2 separate regions of the Homo sapiens genome follow, and region 1 is linked to region 2. Evidence: promoter capture Hi-C in human tissues and cell types (Jung and others, 2019). All regions are on one chromosome and are shown on one strand. Each heading gives the region's core, a stretch centred on a gene start or on the middle of the fragment in contact. The rest is flanking DNA. Distances are from core to core; before and after follow the strand shown. Region 1 overlaps HADHA (hydroxyacyl-CoA dehydrogenase trifunctional multienzyme complex subunit alpha). Region 2 holds the start of OTOF (otoferlin).

What was found. The method cuts DNA at HindIII sites, captures the fragments that hold promoters and counts their contacts. A contact is called where the count stands out against the background at its distance.
Region 1: a fragment that was not itself captured here is called in contact with the fragment with the promoter of OTOF in region 2 in 2 of the 25 tissues and cell types used here (IMR-90 fibroblasts and liver).

The regions. Positions count from the first base shown.
Region 1 is chr2:26,234,009-26,236,932 of GRCh38, reverse strand. HADHA (hydroxyacyl-CoA dehydrogenase trifunctional multienzyme complex subunit alpha) reads left to right here. Exons shown (of 20, transcript NM_000182.5): 4 at 1-78; 5 at 2,578-2,716. Among named protein-coding and RNA genes, the nearest start is that of HADHA, 9.2 kb to the left of the region's middle. The HindIII fragment of the contact is 5,257 bases long and covers 1-2,924 here.
Region 2 is chr2:26,557,228-26,560,150 of GRCh38, reverse strand. It overlaps OTOF (otoferlin), which reads left to right and starts at 1,395. Exons shown (of 47, transcript NM_194248.3): 1 at 1,395-1,658. The coding sequence starts at 1,580. RefSeq lists enhancers at 448-1,240, 1,241-2,034. The HindIII fragment of the contact is 11,571 bases long and covers 1-2,923 here.

The DNA of each region.
Region 1 (2,924 bases), core at 122-2,621, 320 kb after region 2:
CTGGGCTAGTGATCAAATCAGAAGTGCCGTCCTTATCTCATCAAAGCCAGGCTGCTTTATTGCAGGTGCTGATATCAAGTAAGTTTTAGGAAACTTGAAGTCACCTTTTATCTTGGTTAATAGTGTGTTTCTTAGGCCTAATAATTTCTCCTTTTAAAAGAAAGTAGAAGTGCTGGGCACAGTGACACAGGCCTGTAAAATTGAAAATGTACGTATCAGGCTGGGTGTGGTGGTTCTTGCCTGTAATCCCAGCACTTTGGGAGGCCGAGGCAGGTGGATCACATGAGGCCAAGAGCTCAAGACCAGCCTGGCCAACATGGTGAAACCCTGTCTCCACTAAAAATACAAAAATTAGGCATGGTGGCACACGCTTGTAATCTCAGCTACTCAGGAGGCTGTGGCACGAAAATCCCTTGAACCTGGGAGGCAGAGGTTGCAGTGAGCCGAGATCACACCACTGCACTCCAGCCTGGGTGACAGAGTGAGACTGTCTTAAAAAAAAAAAGTATATACACACACACACACACACACACACACACACACACACACACAGAGTATATATATATATATATACACACACACACACACACACATCATGTGATCTAGAGAAATCTCACCCCTTGTTTATAAGAACCAGTGTACAAGGATGTTTGGTCCTGTGTAGTGTGAAATAATGAAGAATTTAAAACCAAATGTCAGTCAGTAGGAAAATGGGTAAGTAAAATGTGGACTATTCACACAATAGAATACTACAAAACAGGTAAAAGGAATTAACTAGATCCACAATATGATGTTAGAACTCAAAAACATAAGGTTAAGTTAAAAGAAAAGCAAATTGCAGAATGTTTCATACAGTATATAGTTTCTATAAATGTTTTAAAACCAAACATGGAATAATTCTTGATACTATTTATGGACACAATCGTAGTTGGTCTGGAAGGAGACACTACAAACATGAAGATGGCTGCTTTGGGGAAATGAAGTGGGTGGTAGGACTTGATTGTTAAAGGCAGCTTTACAGATGCAGCTAGTATTTTCTTTTCCTCTGCTAAATGGTGGAATGCATGCCTACATTAACTTATTTACAATTGTTTACACATACATAAGGAGGGGAAATGATATTTTAGTGTCAGTTTAATAGGTTAAAATGTTAAGTTGTCAATTCCATTAAAATATGGGTATTTGTTATGTTCTTTGTATTTTAGACAATGATAGCCAGCATTGTAGGTTTAGTAATTTGTACTGAAAGTGTAATTATTTATGTGTAGTAATCAGTCTCTTGTTAGGCACAAATAATTCAGCTAGAAGAAAAACCACTTGATAAGATAATTTTGGGTCTTCTAAAAAATTAACATTAAACAGAACATTTATAAAGTCTAACAAGACACTGATGTACCTGGCAGTAGCTACCTATATCCAGAGGAAAATACATGTAGCTTCTATGAGGCCAGCTGAGCAACTCTCAGTGTATAAAATTACAGAATATACTAGTTATCCTTGGTCAAAAGTACAAAATCCATATCCTAAGTGTGTTCACAAAATAGCAAATGAAACAAACTGAAATTAAAGGACATTGAGTGGAACATCATTGCACCTGATCATTTTTATTTACTTATTTATTTTTGAGACGGAGTCTCCCTCTGCTGTCCAGGCTGGAGTACAGTGGTGCGATCTCGGCCCACTGCAACCTCCACCTCCCAGGTTCCAGTGATTCTCTCGCCTCAGCCTCCCGAGTAGCCAGGACTACAGGAATGCAGCACCACGCCCAGCTAATTTTTGTATTTTTAGTAGAGACGCGGTTTCACCATGTTGACCAGCCTGGTCTCGAACTCCTGACCTCAGGTGATCCACCTGCCTTGGCCTCTCAAAGTGCTGGGATTACAGGCATGAGCCACCATGCCTGGCCTACCTGGTCATTTTTATTCATTAGTGGGATCTGTTAAAATGTTTTAGATTTCTCTAAACAACCTGGAAGCTTTTCTTTTGCGTCATTTTTATTGCTGTTAACTACCTGATAGTGAAATGTTTAATCTGATAGTGAAGTAATTTACCAAAGATGATTTTCCCTTGTACCAAGCTTTGTAATTTAATGATTTATTACAGAAGTAAAAATAAATTATGCAACACATTTATGTTTTCTGGATCCAGAATTTTTTTTTTTTTTTTTGAGACAGAGTCTCACTCTGTCGCCCAGGCTGGAGTGCAGTGGCGCGATCTCGGCTCACTGCAAGCTCCACCTCCCGGTTTCACACTGTTCTCCTGCCTCAGCCTCCCAAGTAGCTGGGACTACAGGCGCCCGCCACTATGCCCAGCTAATTTTTTGTATTTTTAGTAGAGACGGGGTTTCACCGTGTTAGCCGGGATGGTCTCATGGATCCAGAAGTTTAACACTCTTTATGGAGAAATGATGTTGCTGCTATTGTGCTATTTGAAGCAAAATCATTCTTAACCTTCTATTTGAAGATTTGTCATCAAATATTGATGCATGATAGGATAAGTGTATAGTGAATAAGTATTGAACCAAATAAATTATAGTTTTATCTTTTTCTCTGTTCTCTACTTTTATGGATAATGCAGCATGTTAGCCGCTTGCAAGACCCTTCAAGAAGTAACACAGCTATCACAAGAAGCACAGAGAATAGTTGAGAAACTTGAAAAGTCCACAAAGCCTATTGTGGCTGCCATCAATGGATCCTGCCTGGGAGGAGGACTTGAGGTATAGATATTCTAAAGTTATTGAGACACTGTCCAACTCATTGGTGGCATTCATCAGCTGTAAACCCTTAGGCTACTGCTTTGCCTGGAAAAAGTTTCTGGAGGAGAATCCGCTTTGTTTTTTGTTTTTTGCTTTGAGACGGAATTTTGCTCTTGTCTCCCAGGCTGGAGAGCAATGGCACGATCTTGGCTCACTGCAACCTCTGCCT
Region 2 (2,923 bases), core at 146-2,645:
GATTAGATAAATGTGAGAAAGGTAAGCAAGAATTGGTTAGGAAAAAGTGCAAAGGAAAAAAACGTAAGTAGAAAAAGAAAAATAGGGCACAGTAGCAAGGAAATATCTAGAAGGAGGAAAGAAGGCTCTTGGGACATACTGTAGGTTATTTGGAATGCAGAATTCAAAAGAAGTAACCTCTTGTTACCATGCTGTGAAAAATTAGTATTTCTCTTTTTAACCTTTAGACTCTGTTTCAGGTAGATCCCTGAGCTCACTCTTTTATCCTTTCAACAGTAATTGGGCATCCTACGGTGCACAGGATACCATGTGGGGCTCTGGGGTAGAGGGATGCTGTGCTCCAGGGCCCTCCTGAGGTCAGGAGGGGAAAAGGCAAGGGAAGCAGCCCCAGGACTCAGTAAGATGAGAGGAGGCAGGAGCAGCACAGAGGAGGACCCCAACCCAGCTGGGGTGCGGGTACAGAGGCACCTCCAGGAGCAGGCACTCAAGCTGAGTCCAGGGTGGGGTGGAGGGCATTCCACCAAGAATGAATAGCAAGAACAAGGCTGCAGATGACCCTGCACAGATTCCAGCATCAGGGATTCTGGCCCCCAGCGTCCCTTTCCTTGGTGTATGCTGCTGGAAGACAGGAGGGGGCAGTTCTCTTTTGGTCCTTAGAAATTTCCCTATAGACATCCCTTCTCCTGCCCCTAGCAGCTTATAACAGCAGAAGGCCATTCAATTCTGCTCCTCTGGCTGGAAAGCAAACATCAGCCTGGCTTACCTTCGCTAGCCTGCCTGACCCCCAGCCTTGGGGTGGGGCTAGGTTAGTGCCCTGGATCCTTAAACATGGCCCCTGGTAGCACATAAGCCTCTGCTGCCTCCACAACCAGCCATCTCCATCATGCATGGCCTGGTCCTGAGCCTCCCCTCAGGCAGCAGCCCCAGCCTCTCTGCTTCCTGAGATTCAGAAACAGGGATCCCAGGGCAGGGCTCAGGGCCCAGCCTCTTGGGGGCACAGTCTCCAGCAGGGAAGAGGTGGGCGTAGGTGGACAAATACATTCCCTTCTTCTTGTAGTGTGCCCCTGTGGGTGGGAGTGCCCCCCGCCCCACATCCACCCTACCTATGCTCATGCCCACTCCTCTGTGCCCACTACTGGTGGCAGGGCTTGCTTAGCAGGGAAGCAGCAGAGCCCTGCAGAGGGGTGGGCAGAGCCTCCCTTCCAGGAGCTGGGAGAAGACACCTGAAGCTGGACAGAGCTTTATCTGGGAGCCGGCGGCTGCTGAATAATGAATTCCAACTCTGCCGCACTCCCAGGCTGCACATTGGGTGCACACACACACACACACACACGCACACACCGATACACACACGCTGGGCTGACAACTTGGAGGGGCGGGGGCTGTGAGGCTCTGTGAGTCGCTGCAGGAGCAGCTTAGCTCGGCTTGGTTGCCTTGGTCTCTGTGGGCAGCATCGGAGGGGGGTCGGGAGGAGGAGGAGGAGGCAGCGGCAGAGAAGAGAGAGGCGTGTGAGCCGTGCTCCACCGGCTAGCTCCTTCCCGCTGCTCCTGCCTGGCAGTGCCAGGCAGCCCACACCAGCATGGCCTTGCTCATCCACCTCAAGACAGTCTCGGAGCTGCGGGGCAGGGGCGACCGGATCGCCAAAGTGACTTTCCGAGGTAGGGAAGCCGCTGTCTCAGAGGGACGCCAGCTCTGAGAGCTGGACCAGCCCATGCTCTGGAGGTGGCCGGGGATAGGACAGGGCTGGGAGGATGGGTGGGAAAAGTTCTAGCAGGGGCTGGGGCGACGAGCCTTTTCACAGGTAGTCATCTGCCTGGGACTGACTGGCCATTGTGATTTCTGGAAAATCAGGGTCCCCTGTTCTTCCATGCCTGTGTCTCCTTGTGCTTGCCAACATGCCAGTTCCCCGGGCAGGGCACAGAGCCCTCTGCCTGGGGAGGCAGAAGTGAGGACCACATCCCTGAGCTCAGGGAGACCCAGGACCCCCTCCTTCTCTCTCTCTCCCTCTCCTGCAGGTTGATTTCCTTGAGCACAGGGTGGGGGCCGGGTATGGAGCCTGGGGCACCCAGGGTGACTGGGAGAAACCAGGCAGCCAGTAGCTCCCTGGGCCCCAGAGTGATGGGGGACACTGTTGGCTTCTTTTAGATCTATTCATGGGCGGGAACCCCGGGAGCCCCTCGCCTCTCTTCTGTCTGGTCTTTTCTCATCCTTTTCACTCCTGTATTCAGCGACCATTTATTATGATCTACTGTGTCCCAAGGATAGGGGTAGAAACACAGAGCTGAGCACAACCCAGCCCCAGCCCCAAGGAGCCTGCATCTGTTGGGCAGGCGTGGAACAAGCAGGACAGGTATGTGAGACAGAAGGTGGGGGTGCAGCATGCAAGCTACAGAAGCAGCACCCTCACCCAGGCTGGTGACCGGTGGTCAGGGAAGGCTTCCCGGAGGAAGTAACACTCAGCTAATACCCGAAGGACCAGCGGGTGGGAGCTAGGAGAGGAGGTAAGGACTGAGGAGGCAGAGGAAACAGTGTGCCCAGAGCTGAGAGAGGAGCTGAAACTCTGGAACTGAAAGAGGTTCCATGTGTCTACAGCTCAGAGAGGGTGCAGGAGCGGAGGCCAGAGAGCCAAGCAGGGCAAGGAGGCGAGGCTGGACCTGACCCCGGGGACAGCGGAGCCCCTGAGCATTTTAAGTGGGGAAAGGCAGGGCCAGGCTGACTCTGTCCTTCACCACCCACCTCTGCCTCTCCATGTGGTTGCTGCCCAGCCCTGAGGGTTGGGGGTACTTCTCACTAGACATGGCCCCTTCTCCCGAGAGAGGGGTCTGAGAGTGGGATGGGGACGAGGTGGTGAGAAGGGGGCAGAGAGGACCCCCCTATACTAAAGAGCAAAGTGAGCCTTGGGGCCCAGGCTGGACACAGTGTC